Regions from separate parts of the Homo sapiens genome. Here region 1 is linked to region 2. The links are contacts of gene promoters, found by promoter capture Hi-C in blood cells and fetal thymus (Javierre and others, 2016). All regions are on one chromosome and are shown on one strand. The core of a region is centred on a gene start or on the middle of the fragment in contact, and the rest is flanking DNA. Distances in the headings are between cores, read along the strand shown. Region 1 overlaps WDR75 (WD repeat domain 75). Region 2 holds the start of ANKAR (ankyrin and armadillo repeat containing).

What was found. The method cuts DNA at HindIII sites, captures the fragments that hold promoters and counts their contacts. A CHiCAGO score of 5 or more calls a contact.
Region 1: a fragment that was not itself captured here is called in contact with the fragment with the promoter of ANKAR in region 2 in 2 of 17 cell types (non-activated CD4 T cells and monocytes); the score reaches 6.2 in non-activated CD4 T cells.

The regions. Positions count from the first base shown.
Region 1 is chr2:189,444,047-189,446,746 of GRCh38, forward strand. The region is part of intron 1 of WDR75 (WD repeat domain 75); the gene reads left to right. Among named protein-coding and RNA genes, the nearest start is that of WDR75, 3.9 kb to the left of the region's middle. The HindIII fragment of the contact is 711 bases long and covers 1,060-1,770 here.
Region 2 is chr2:189,673,242-189,675,941 of GRCh38, forward strand. It overlaps ANKAR (ankyrin and armadillo repeat containing), which reads left to right and starts at 1,429. Exons shown (of 23, transcript NM_001378068.1): 1 at 1,429-1,589. It overlaps LOC105373793 (a long non-coding RNA gene), which reads right to left and starts at 1,044. Exons shown (of 2, transcript XR_923692.3): 1 at 590-1,044; 2 at 1-152. RefSeq lists a silencer at 1,085-1,504 and an enhancer at 1,555-1,814. The HindIII fragment of the contact is 6,953 bases long and covers 1-2,700 here.

The DNA.
Region 1 (2,700 bases), core at 165-2,664, 230 kb before region 2:
AGGTAGAAATTCAGGACTGAAGTTTGGAGAACTTGGTCAAGATTTAGAGATTTTTTTTTTGTCATCTATATATAAGCTAATAATTAAAACCATTTATCTAACAAATGACAGGATTTTAATGAACTCAGCAAAGATTTGAATATTATCTACAAGGTACCACAAGGGATTGGCTGCCTTATACAAAGAGGAATAATTTTGTATTTTACCTCAAGGTGCTTATCAAGAAAGCCAAAATCATAAAAAGACAGACTTGTGGAATTTTGGCGGCTTCCTCTTGAAACTAGAACAAAAACTCTGTTCTAGGTACTTGAGTAGGTTGTTCTGAGGGGCATGTGGGTATACATGTAAGTTCCTGGTGTTCCCATATTAGATATTACTGACTCTCAGTCCAGTTCTGTTTGCATCCCATTCTGCGGCATCCCACAGTTATATGGTGCTGTGAATTATTGCACTGGGGTTGTTAGGGTAGAGAAAACTGAAACAATGAGTCATCCTTGCCTTTCACTTTCCTAAATTGCCCACAAGCTAATGTCCCAAACTCAGTATTTTTCCCTTACAGATCATTCTGAGTATTGCTGCTGTAACAATTTTCCTAAGTTGTTACTGTTATAACATTATTACTCTAACTCTTATTTCTAGTCTTGCTCTGAACTTTTTAACAGTTTTTTGTTGCCTCCTTAACTATAGCTCCTCTATATGGCTTTCAATCCCTTCTCTGATATAGCTCAACTCTTCCTACCCAACTGTTTCCTGATACTACCCATTATAGACACTTTGCTTGTCAGATAAGTACATTATCTGTGTCTTGTATATAATCATACCATTTCCTTGCTCTTGCTTATGTTGCTATTTTTTCTTCCCACCCCTTAAATCATACATCCTTCAGAGTCTAGTTTAAATCTTGGTTCCGACTTGAAACATCCCTAATTTCTTACTTCTTCACTTTCTCAACAAAGATGAATCCTATGTGACAGGTGTTGTGGTGGGTGCATTACACACCTTCCAGTCTACAAGGTTAAGGTATTATCCCTATTGAGTGAGTGCTTGCTGTGTATGCTAAGCTTGTATTTGCATGCAATGTTTCACTTAAACTCTATGAGAACGTGTTATTTACATTTTACAGTGGCTAACTGTAAGTGGAGATGTGAAGTTTAAAGAGGTTAAGTAAATTCTCCAACATCATTCAGCTAATACATAATAAAGCTGACATTCGAATCCATTTGTGTTTGACTTATTATTGTTTCTAATAAGTGAAAACACAGTGTCTCACCTCAAAGACTCACAGTCTGGTAGAGGAGAAACATAGTACACAGACAGTCTTAATGCCTTGTGGTAAGTTCTGTGATGGAGCTAAGCCCACCGTCGTGTAGAAGCACATTAGGACGGGTGCTGATCTAGAATGAGAAGATGAGGAAGGGCTTCCGGGAGAAAATTCTGAGCTGAATCTTAAAGCAGTAGTCAAGAGTTCTGAGAAATGGGAAAGACTGAAAAACTGTCACTGATTGGAAGGTTCTGAGAAGATATGACAACTAAGGTGGTATGCTGGACTGGGGTCTAGGAACATAAAAAAGACATTAATGGAAAAAGTGAAGAGCTCCAAATAAATTATGTAGTCAATAGTCATGTACCAGTGTTAATATCTTAGTTTTGACTAACATGCTGTGCTTATGTAAAGTGCTAACATTTGTGGAAGCTAGGTGAAGCGTATGCAGGAACTCTGTAATTCTTCTGTAAATCTAAAATTATTTCAAAATTAAAAGTTAAAAAATAAGCTTACTCTTAGGAAATAAAAAAGAAGTAATTAGAAAACGTGTTCTATGTAGATAGCAGAGAGTGCAAAACCATGGAGAGAAAGTTGACTTTGAAGGGTTGCGTTTAAGTAATTGAAGCCATTGTTCTATGCTGAGAAACAAGAAGAGAGGATATTCCTTTTTTCTGAGGAAGCTTATCAGAATCAATTAGGGAAAGTTTTCTTGGCCAACAGTAGCCCCCTACCCACCACTGTCTCAAGGAAGCCATATCTAAAGGACCTCTTCATATTGATAGGGTGTGTCTGGGGGATGGGGGAAATTGTTGGAGTTATGAACTATTTTAATAGAGCACAGTGTTAAGTGAAAAAGTAGTTCAAGTTAGACTGGGATCAGACTACCAAAGCCTTAAGAATTTAGATCATTTCCTAAAGTCAGAGGGAAAACAGTGAAGGATTTTAGCTTTATCTGAGCAAGTAATATGGTCAAATTTGCAAAATTAGTCTGGTGTGACTGTGAAAGCTGCATTGAAGGACTGTACCTGGAGACTGTAGGAAGCCCTGAAGAGTGGCCCAGGCTGGAGATGTTAAGCTTCTGAACTGAAGTACTCATGGGAATGGAGAAGAGGCTCCAGCCAAAGGGCAGGTTATATATCGCAAATGCTTTGTTGCTCATACATTCTTGATCTTATACCATTTCATACAACCATGCCTCCTGGCTGACAGCACTTACAAGAGACCATTGATTATAAGATGCATTCTAATTTCAAAGAGATGAACAAGTGAAAATCAAGTGTCTTGAACTAATAAAATAGGATAGTAGTGGTCCCAGTTTGCAACAAATTTAGTGTGTTGTAATACAGTAGCTCTCCCTTGTCCACAGAGGATATGTTCCAGGACCCTCAGTGGATGCCTAGAACCACAGGTAATACCAGACACTCTATATAGTAAAT
Region 2 (2,700 bases), core at 179-2,678:
CATCTCCCCTGACCGAGCAGCAGCATCCGATAAAGTTGGCCATTCCTTTTTTTTTTTCCACACACTTCTTTGGCTTCTGTGACCAATTTTGGTTTTCCTCCTGCCTTCTTGGCTGTTCTTTTTGTCTTCTTTGCTGACTTCACTCTCTCTACCTGACGTTTAAATGTTAAATTTCTCAGGTCTCTAATCCTTGGTTCTCAACTCCTCATTCTGCACGCTCTCCCTTGGTGATTTCAACCCCACTCCTGGCTTCAATTACTATAAATCTGCCAAAATTTATACATCTAACCCCTACTGCCATTCTTAGCCCAGAACTGTTTATCTAAAGCATATCTCACATCTCAATTTCTCTCACAGGTACTTCAAGGTCAATTAGTACATAACTGAACTCTTAATCTTGCCCTGATATCCTGTTGCTCCTGACAGAAATGTGGTTCTGACTTGGACACAACCTTCTTTTTCAACATATCCCCAATCTGTCACCAACAGGCAACCTCATTATTTTTCAAATCTGTCCACAGTCCCTGAGCCCCACCTCCACTGCCACTACTGTAGGCTAATCCTTTGGGATGAAATTCAAAATCATTACTCAGCAGCCTGCATGATCTGTCCATCGCGCACCTCAGCAGCTCGGTTTGTGCCCACATCTCTCTTGTTCTCTAAGCAGGGTTTTGCGGTTTCTCAACCATTTCAACTTTGTTCTCACTTCAATTCTTTCTCTCCTGCTGTTCCCTGTTCCTGAAAAGCTACTTGTCCAGTCCTTTGCTTGGGTAGCTCTTTTCCATCTTCTAGGCTCGGAGGGGAAAAGGGCACTTCCTTAGGCAGCCTTTCCTAGCCCTGGGCTAGGTTAGCTTTCATTCGAGTGCTGTCATTCCATCTAATATTGGCACACTGTTAAATATAGCTGTGAGATGATCTGTTCAACTGTAAGCTCCTTGGGGTTTCGTGTCTGCCCTGTTTTCTAGGGTTTCCAGCTTGTAGCTGGGTGCCTGACTCATAATAGGTGTTCCATAAATGCTTGTTGAATGAAAGAATGATGATGGAGGTGGTATTCCAACTCGGGACTGCCTCAACGCCCGGCGCTGTCTCCTCTGCTACTCTGTTTCGGTGTTTTAGCAGAGGCAGATAGTGAGGGCGGCACAGTGCCCACGGCATGCCGCTGGACTAAGCGCTAAGCGGGCTTGGGATGATGCGCACGCGGGGGGTCTGAGCCAGCCAAGGGGCCGGGCGCCGCCTGGGGGCGCTGCGGCTGCTGCGGGACGCACCAGGCCTAGTCGCCCGCAGGCTCCGCCCGAGGAGCAGCCCAGCCACCCCAGGGCCCGGAGGACCAACCGCTTCGACCCGCGCCCGGGCGGCGGCAGTGTTGGCCGGCGAGGCGAGGAGGGCCGGGCCGCCACGGTGGGGCGAAAAGCCCTGAAAGTTCCTCTCAGTTCCTTCCGGTGCGCCTCCCGCTCGCCCTTGCGGAGGCCCTGAGGGCGGATTCAAGGCCCCGCGAGAAGCCATCTGAGGCGGCGACGACTGTTCTCAGCCCCACGGGAACGCCGCGGACGCAGCGTCCCTCTCCCGGACAAGAAAACAGCCATTCTAGAGTAGGTTCCTCCCCTTTCCTTGTTTTTTCCCCTTTCCCGTGCCCATGGCTGACGCGAGCTGCTTTTGGACGTGGGTCCCGGGCTTGACTGGACAGACGTGGGTTCTGTTTCTGAAAGGCGTAAAACCTCAGACTTGTCCTGCAACCTCCTGGTCTCCGTTTTTGCCTCTATAAAGTGGGCATAACAAGGTCTGACTCACTGACCTGGGGTCTCAGGTGTGGCGCCCAAACCAGCACTATCAGCATTTCCTGTAACTTTACTAAAACGCATATTTTCTGGCCCCACTACAGCTCATTGAATCAGAAACTCAGTGGTGGGATTCAGCGATTTGTATTTGAACAAGCCCCAGGTGATTTTGATACAAGCTAAATTTTGAGAACCACTATATAATAGAGACCAATCAGATGAAATAAATCAAACCATTATATAGTAAAGAACCTGGCTCAATAAATAGTAGTTGTGGTTATTATTATTTCAGGAATAGACAGGCATTCATTGGCACAGAAATTGAAGGTTAAGCAAATGCTTCTTTCCTTTTCTTTTTCTTTTTTTTTTCTTTTTTTGAAACAGTGTTTTTCACACTTGTTGCCCAGGCCACCGCAACCTCCGCCTCCTGGGTTCAGCCTCCTGTCTCAAGCCCCGCGAGTAGCTGAGATTACAGGCATGTACGACCACGTTTGGCTAATTTTGTATTTTTAGTAGAGACGGAGTTTCTCCATGTTTGTCAGGCTGTTCTCGAACTCCTGACATCAGTTGATCTGCCCGACTTGGCCTCCCAAAGTGCTGGGATTACACGCATGAGCCACTGCGCCCCACCCTTTTCTTTTCTTTCATGCAGGTCAGTATAGTCTTGCTTTAAAAAACTGAAAACAAAATAAATATCCATATGATTTGGATATTTATCCCCTCCAAATCTCATGTTAAAATAGATTCCCCAATGTTGGAGGTAGGGCTTGGTGCGAGGTGTTTGGATTATGGGGGTGGATCCCTCATGAATGGCTTGGTGCTTTCCTGGCAGAGTGAACTCTACCTCTGAGCTCATGAAAGATCTGGTTGTTTAAGAGTAGACACCTCCCCTTTCTCTCTATTGTTCCGTCTCTTACCATGTGAC